2 separate regions of the Homo sapiens genome follow, and region 2 is linked to region 1. The links are contacts of gene promoters, found by promoter capture Hi-C in human tissues and cell types (Jung and others, 2019). All regions are on one chromosome and are shown on one strand. Each heading gives the region's core, a stretch centred on a gene start or on the middle of the fragment in contact. The rest is flanking DNA. Distances are from core to core; before and after follow the strand shown.

Evidence for each region. The method cuts DNA at HindIII sites, captures the fragments that hold promoters and counts their contacts. A contact is called where the count stands out against the background at its distance.
Region 2: a fragment that was not itself captured here is called in contact with the fragment with the promoter of PSMB10 in region 1 in 1 of the 25 tissues and cell types used here (ovary).

The regions. Positions count from the first base shown.
Region 1 is chr16:67,935,099-67,938,915 of GRCh38, forward strand. It overlaps PSMB10 (proteasome 20S subunit beta 10), which reads right to left and starts at 1,752. Exons shown (of 8, transcript NM_002801.4): 1 at 1,596-1,752; 2 at 1,300-1,387; 3 at 1,117-1,214; 4 at 865-1,005; 5 at 484-599; 6 at 322-380. The coding sequence starts at 1,651. RefSeq lists enhancers at 322-521, 672-861, 1,152-1,431, 1,682-1,931. The HindIII fragment of the contact is 5,569 bases long and covers 781-3,817 here.
Region 2 is chr16:67,899,681-67,903,497 of GRCh38, forward strand. The region is part of intron 1 of PSKH1 (protein serine kinase H1); the gene reads left to right. Among named protein-coding and RNA genes, the nearest start is that of PSKH1, 8.3 kb to the left of the region's middle. The HindIII fragment of the contact is 3,472 bases long and covers 46-3,517 here.

The sequences.
Region 1 (3,817 bases), core at 502-3,001:
CAACATCACCTGCTTCCATCCCACCCCAAACAAAATCTAGGCTCCAGACGTTGATATAAGTAGGACCCTACTGGTCCTTCTCTCCGCCCTCGGCTCCTAAAGATCCTCTGTGAGCTTCGACTTCTCCCAGCCGTGCAGGCTTTGGTATTGGACGGTGTTATGTCGGGACCGCACTTCTCTGCCCTTACTCCACTCACCCTTCAGTGGTCACCTCCTCCGACAAGCCTTAGCCACCCGCACTGGGCCAGGGTCCTGTGCTCCCCCAGCTCCCGGGTGCACATCCCACCAGCGACCACAAAGTCGGGGACAGAGGCCGCTCACCGTCATGTTCGGCTGGAACCGGTCTTCTAGCACCGCCAGGGCCGCGTCCTGACCAGAGCCTGAAGGCAGGAGAAGCATCTGAAGTCAACCGCTGCGACGCCGTTTGGAGTGAGGCCAAGGTCACAGGGGCAGAGTTCGAGGAGAAGGGACAGAAGCGCTCACCCAGGGCTGTGAAGGGCAGACGGCTGTAGGAGCCATGGGGATGCACACCGTAGAGCTGCGGTCCAGTCAGGTCTACGCCGCCCACGATCAGCGATGCACCCACGTGGCCCTGGTACCTGCTCGAGGATGGGCGGGGTCGGCCACAAGCTGGGGCCTAGGCCCCACCTCTCTATGCCCAGCTCCTAGGTGCTATCCCCGCCCCTTCCTGTGGGCTGGCGCCCGATGACTGACATCGCCTTTTCCTGTAGCCCAGGTTCTCTTGGGCCGGCCTCTTCCGGTCACCTGGCCCGTCGCGGTCCCGCCCTTCTTTCTGTCCCGCCTTCCAATGGCCCCAACCCCGTAACTACCCCTGCCGGGGTCCTGTTAGCCCTGCCCCCGCACCTGAAGAGCGTCTGGCGCAGGATGCGAGTGACCGTGGCCACGCGGGGCTCGCGGCCCGTAGATAACGCGTGTAGCTCCATCTTGGACGCCACCATCCGTGTGGTCATCTCGGCGTCCGCGGCTACTCCAGCCCCACAGCAGCTGAGGCAAAAGGGAGGATCGGTGTGGGCAGGGCTGGGACGTGCGGGGACCGGAGTGGGAACGAGGGGGCCGTTCTTTTTTGCGTACGGGAACTGGGCTCGGGAGTCTCACTAGATTTTGGGGGCGATGAAGTGGATCTTCTCGCAGCTCTTGTCCGCCACGACCGAATCGTTAGTGGCTCGCGTATCGGCGCCCAGAATGACCCCGTCCTGAGGAGAGGGAGGGACCGCAGCTTCAGTGCCTGCTCGATACTCTCGGCTCCCCTCCAGCTCCCCGTCCCTCCCCGCTGCTCACTTGGAACACCAGGCCCGCGATGGTGGTCCCGGTCTTGCGTGCGTGAGGGACCTTGAGCCCCGGGAGGACGCGTTCCAATGATGCATTTCTGGAAACGGAGGAGGGCGCCCATGTTTCGGCTCTGCTTTCAAGACCCCTGTTGCTTCCCCTAACCTGGTCCCCGTCTCCCTCATCTTCCGGGGTAAGCCTGGAACCCAAGTCGACCAACACACCCTCCCCCACCCCCAGCCAGGAAAAAAGGCCACGAGCAAGCAGAGGCGGCTCAGGAGTGACCGCCCCCCGCGCCCCCGCTTCACCTTTGGCAGTTCTCGAAGGAGAAGCCCCCTCGGGGCTCCAGGGCTGGCTTCAGCATCTTGGGGCAGGCAGAGGGGATTAGGGGTCGCGGGCGGATGAGTCGGCCAGACAAGCGGGGCCAGTGAGCAGCTAAAAAGTCCTCTGCTAGGCTTCACGTCTGTACTTCCTGCTTTCGCTTTCGCCTTTACCCTTCCTCAAAGGCCCGTGGCGGTTTTCTGCATCTTGTCTTTCACTTTTGGCTTCACTTGTGGCTCTGAGCATTTGGGGAACCGGGTGATGTCCCTTGCTGTGCCCTCTGTGCTGCTCACTGGGTACTCTGTTGGATAGAGGGACAAATCTCTTCCCTTCTGGACTTGTTCAGGTCCTCCTCCCCCTCCATCTGAGCCCCTTGCTCTTACCCTAGCCTCAACTCTGACCTCCAGTCCCAGCATAGTAAAGCTCTCAGAGCCTTGGCCAAGTCAGCATTGTTGCTGGCCACCCAGTAGCATCAGGCATAGCTGACTTTTGTTCCTTGTCACCTTTCTTCCAACTCTTGCCTCTTTTGTTGCCTTTACTCCTCTGCAAAAACCTCAAACAGAGGCTCAGTCCTCAGTCACAGGGACCCTGGTCTTTCCATCTTCCATCTCAGGTGCCATCTTCCCTCTCTCAAGAGGGCACCATGGGTGTTGGGTTCCACTCATGGCCAAGCCTTGTTATTTCACCTCCCCAGTGACCTCTTGTCTGCACACATCCTTTTCCTAGCACTTCTAGTCTCAGCTAGCATCCTCTCCCACCTGGACATTGCACTGGCCTCCCTGGTTACCTTGCAATTCTTGCCCCCCGCCCCCCGACCCCCAGGCTACTCCTTACCCTGCAGAGAGCGGGTCTTTCTAAATTGGAAATCTGGTCACATTCTTTCTCTGGTTTAAACCCTTCAGCAGTCTGGGCCTGGTGGCTCACACCTGTAATCCCAGCACTTTGGAAGCCCAGGAGTTCGGGGCTGCAGTGAGTATGGATCATACCATTGCACTCCAGCCTGGGCAATAGACCCCGTCTCAAAGGGGGAAAAAAAAGACTTGGGTTTGAGGCTAAGAGCAGCACGCAGCTGCCAAAGGGTTTATCTTAATTTTTTTTTTTTTTTTTTGAGATGGGGTCTTACTCTGTTGCCCAGGCTGGAGTACAATGGTGTGATCTCGGTTCACTGGAACCTCTGCCTCCCAGGCACAAGCACTCTTCCACCTCAGCCTCCTGAGTAGCTGGGACCACAGGCACACACCACCATGCCTGGCTAATTTTTTTTTTTTTTTTTTTTTTTGGTAGAGATGGGGTTTCACCGTGTTGCCCAGGCTGGTCTTGAACTCCTGAGCTCAGGCGATCCACCCTCCTCAGCCTTCCAAAGTGCTAGGCTTATAACCATGAACCACTGTGCCTGGCCTATTTTACGGTTTTTTTTTTTTTTTTTTTTGGACACAGGGTCTTGCTGTTGCTCAGGCTGGAATGCCGTGGCACCATCTTGGCTCACTGCAACCTCTGCCTCCCAGGTTCAAGCAATCCTCCCACCTCAGCCTGCCTAGTAGATTTGACTACAGCTGTGGCTACACCTGGCTAATTTAAAAATAAATTTTTTTTTTTGAGACGGAGTTTTGCTCTTGTTGCCCAGGCTGGAGTGCAATAGTGTGATCTTGGCTCACCGCAACGTCCACCTCCCAGGTTCAAACAATTCTCCTGCCTCAGCCTCCCGAGTAGCTGGGATTACAGGCATGCGCCACCATGCCCGGCTAATTTTGTATTTTTAGTAGAGACGGGGTTTCTCCATGTTGGTCAGGGTGGTCTCAAACTTCTGACCTCAAGTGATCCGCCCACCTCGGCCTCCCAGAGTGCTGGGATTACAGGCATGAGCCACCGCACCAGGCTAATTTTTAAAATTTTTGTAGAGATGAGGTCTCACTATATTGCCCAGGCTTGTCTCGAACTCCTGGGCTCAATCAAGTCAAACCCAAGTCTTTTTTTTTTTTTGAGACGGAGTCTCGCTCTGTCGCCCAGGCCGGACTGCGGACTGCAGTGGCGCAATCTCGGCTCACTGCAAGCTCCGCTTCCCGGGTTCACGCCATTCTCCTGCCTCAGCCTCCCGAGTAGCTGGGACCACAGGCGCCCGCCACCGCGCCCGGCTAATTTTCTGTATTTTTAGTAGAGACGGGGTTTCACCTTGTTAGCCAGGATGGTCTCGATCTCCTGACCTCATGAT
Region 2 (3,817 bases), core at 532-3,031, 35 kb before region 1:
TCTGTTGCCCAGGCTGGAGTGCAGTGGCGTGATCTCGGCTCACTGCAACCTCTGCCTCTCAGGTTCAAGCGATTTTCCAGCCTCAGCCTCCCAAGTAGCTGGGATTCCAGGTGTCCACCACCACACTTGGCTAATTTTTTTGTATTTTTAGTAGAGATGGGGTTTCACCATGTTGGACAGGTGGTTTCAAACTCATGACCTCAAGTGATCCACCTGCCTCGGCCTCCCAAAGTGCTAGGATTCCAGGCATGAGCCACTGTGCCCTGCCTGTTTTTCTTTTTCTTTCTTTTTATTTTCTTGAGACGGAGTGCTGCCCTGTCGCTTAGGCTGGAGTGCAGTGGCATGATCTCAGCCTACTGCAACCTCTGCTTCCCAGGGTCAAATGATTCTCCTGCCTCAGCTTCTGAGTAGCTGGGATTACAGGTGCCCACTACCATGCCCAGGAAATTTTTTTGTATTTTTAGTAGAGATGGGTTTCACCATGTTGGCCAGGCTGATCTTGTACTCCTTACCTCAGGTGATCCACCTGCCTTGGCCTCCCAAAATGCTGTGATTATAGGCGTGAGCCACTGCGCCCGGCCAGACCACATTTCATTTGCTCTGAGTTCAGCAATTTGATAAGTACCAAGGGAGTTCTGGAAACCTGAGAATGGCCCCTTCCCTCAAGGGTCTGACAGCTGTAGTGATCAAAGGCAGTCTGGAGTAGAGCAGTGAGCAGTGTGACTCAGATTATAGTTGGAATGGAGGTTTCTAAAGCAGACCCTTCAGGAAAGATCCTCAGGAAAGCTTTGTGGGTTCACCAACTCAGTGGCATGGGGAAGGATCAAGGCCTTGACTGGATGAGGCCCAGCACTGCTGGAGTCTTTCCGGAGTGATAGAAGGAGCCCCAGATGGGGAACTAGGATATTTGGGTCCAGGATATTTGGTCACCACCGTCTGAGTGGCTTTGGACGAGTCTCTTTACCTCTCCTGGACTGTCATTTCTGTAGATTGTCAGTGAGGACGATAATGCTGAATGCTCATACCCATTGCCACACTCTGTCCAATGTGCGTGCCTTCTTTGAAGAGTGCTTTGGACCAGGCTGGGAGTTTAAGTTTTGGAGGCAGACTCTAGAGAGTTGGGTACTTTCTGCAAGATGACATACTGTGACACTCCTGGGAAGTCTCTTCCTGAAGCTTCCTTACTCATCCTTGCCCATCCCTACACCTACCGTGATCTCTGGGCTAGGGGCACACACAAGAGATGCTGGGAACAGGAAAAGGCTCTGCTCTTCTTCCTAGGAGCTTTACCAGCCACCTCCCGTGTTATAGAGTCTGCATTTTCACCTGACCACAGTGTGGAGAGGGAGTTTAACAGATGTGATGGGACTGTGGAGCAGCTGTGATCACCTGGGGGCTGTTGCCCATTGTCCCCACCTCTCAGCCAGCACCCTCTCTTCTCTACTTTCTTTTTTTTTTCCCCTCTCTTGGCCAATTTGGTCTAATATCCTCCAGTTTCAATCTGTAGTTGGGATGGTGGAGTACCCGCATCAGCCTATCTTTACAGAGTTTCTGATTGGAATCAATGTGAGAGAAACTATGTCTCAGGAAGACAGAAGGAAGATCAGAGGGAAAATCATTGACTCTCTTATTGCCGACTGACTTTATTTTGTTTTCTTTCTTTCTTTAAGAGACGGAGTTTCGCTCTATCGCCCAGGCTGGAGTGCAGTGGCGCGATCTCAGCTCACTGCAACCTCCGCCTCCTGGGTTCAAGCAATTCTCCTGCCTCAGCCTCCTGAGTAGCTGCGACTGCAGGCTCATGCCACCACGCCTGGCTAATTTTTTTTGTATTTTAGTAGAGACGGGGTTTCACCGTGTTGCCCAGGCTGGCTCAAACTCCTGAGCTCAGGCAATCCACCTGCCTTGGCCTCCCAAAGTGCTAGGATTACAGGCGTGAGCCACCATGCCCAGCCTATTTTTTTTTTTTTTTTTGGAGACATGGTCTTGCTCTGTTGCCCAGGCTGGAGTGCCATAGCACAAACACAGCACACTGCAGCCTCGACTTCCCTGGCTCAAGCTATCCTCCACCTCAGCTTCCTGAGTATCTGGGACTACAGGTGCATGCCACCACGCCTGACTAATTTTTTGTAGAGATGGAGGTCTCACTACATTGCCCTGGCTGGTCTCAGACTCCAGGGCTCAAGTAATCCTCCCACCTTGGCCTCCCAGAGTGCTAGGATCACAGTGTAAACCACTGCGCCCTGATGCTGACTTACCTTTGATCCCTGTAGGTTTTATTTGTTTAAAGTGAAAAGTGAGGCCGGGTGCAGTGGCTCACACCTGTAATTCCAACACTTTAGGAGGCGGAGGTGGGCGGATCACTTGAGGCCAGGAGTTTAAGACCAGTCTGGCCAATGTGTTGTAACCCTGTCTCTACTAAAAATACAAAAATTAACCAAGCATGGTGGCACATGCCTGTAGTCCCAGCTACTTGGGAGGCTGAGGCACGAGAATTGTTTGAACCTGGGAAGTGGAGGTTGCAGTGAGCTGAGATCGTGCCACTGCACGCCAACTTAGGTGATAAAGCGAGACTCCATCTCAAAAAAAAAAAAAGAAATAAAAATGAATCGAAAAGTTAGACCTTTTGTTTTTTGTTTTTTTGAGACAGTCTCGATCTCTCACCCAGGCTGGAGTACAGTGGTGCGATCTCGGCTCACTGCAGCCTCCCTGGTTCAAGCGATTCTCCTACCTCAGCCTCCTGAGCAGCTGGGATTACAGGCGCGTGCCATCACGTCCGGGGCTAATTTTTGTATTTTTAGTAGAGACGGGGTTTCACCCATGTTGGTCAGGCTGGTCTCAAACTCTTGACCTTGTGATCCGCCCACCTCAGCCTCCCAAAGTGCTGGGATTACAGGCCTGAGCCACTGCGCCCAGCCAGGCCTTTTCTTTTATAAACCTTAGGTTTTTCCCTGAGGACCAGACTAGGTCCTCATTTAAACAAAAATTTAAACAAAAATACCCAGTACATGTGCCTGTAGATGACTGTTTATTTTGTGAATCTAGGGTTCTGCTTCTTCACCAGGAAGAAGTGACATCTGAGTGGCTGTGCTGGGTTACTCATGCAGTTTGTCTTGCCTCCGAATGGTGGTAGATGTTGTTACTGAGTGGTCGTGGGCATCGGGGTGAGGGACCTGTGTTCTGCCTCAGGAATACCAGCCCAAGAGGAGCTTCAGTCCTTCACTGCATGAGGTGTTGTGTTTTCCCTGAAAGAAGAAATAAGTCTGCAAAATTCCACAGTCCGTAGTTCTATCCTGTGGCCTCTGCGAAAAGGAACCTTGGTTCTAAATGCCTTTGTTTAACATTATTTCCTAGTTGCCATGTGGAACTTCCTGTGCATTTGGGTGAGAACAGCTGCAAATCCTGAAGAGCCTTGTGGAGGAATCTTTTCCTCTTATGTGAAGAAAAATAAACAATATTTTTTTTTGGTTTGGTTTGGTTTTGCTTTGTTTTTCAGACAGGATTTCTGTCTCCCAGGCTGGAATATAGTGGTACCATCACCGCTCACTGCAACCTCAACCTCTTGGACTGAAGCAGATCCTCCCACCCTAGCCTCCTAAGTAGCTGGGATCACAGGCACATGCCACCATGTCTGACTCAATTTAAAAAATGTTTGGCAGAGATAGGGTCTTTCTGTGTTGCCCAGGCTGGTCTTGAACTCCTGGACTCAAGTAGTCCTCACGCCTTGGCCTCCCAAAGTGCTGGGATTACAGGCATGAGCCACTATGCCCCATAGATAAACCTCATTTTTTCCTCTCTCTCTCTTTTTGAGATGGAGTCT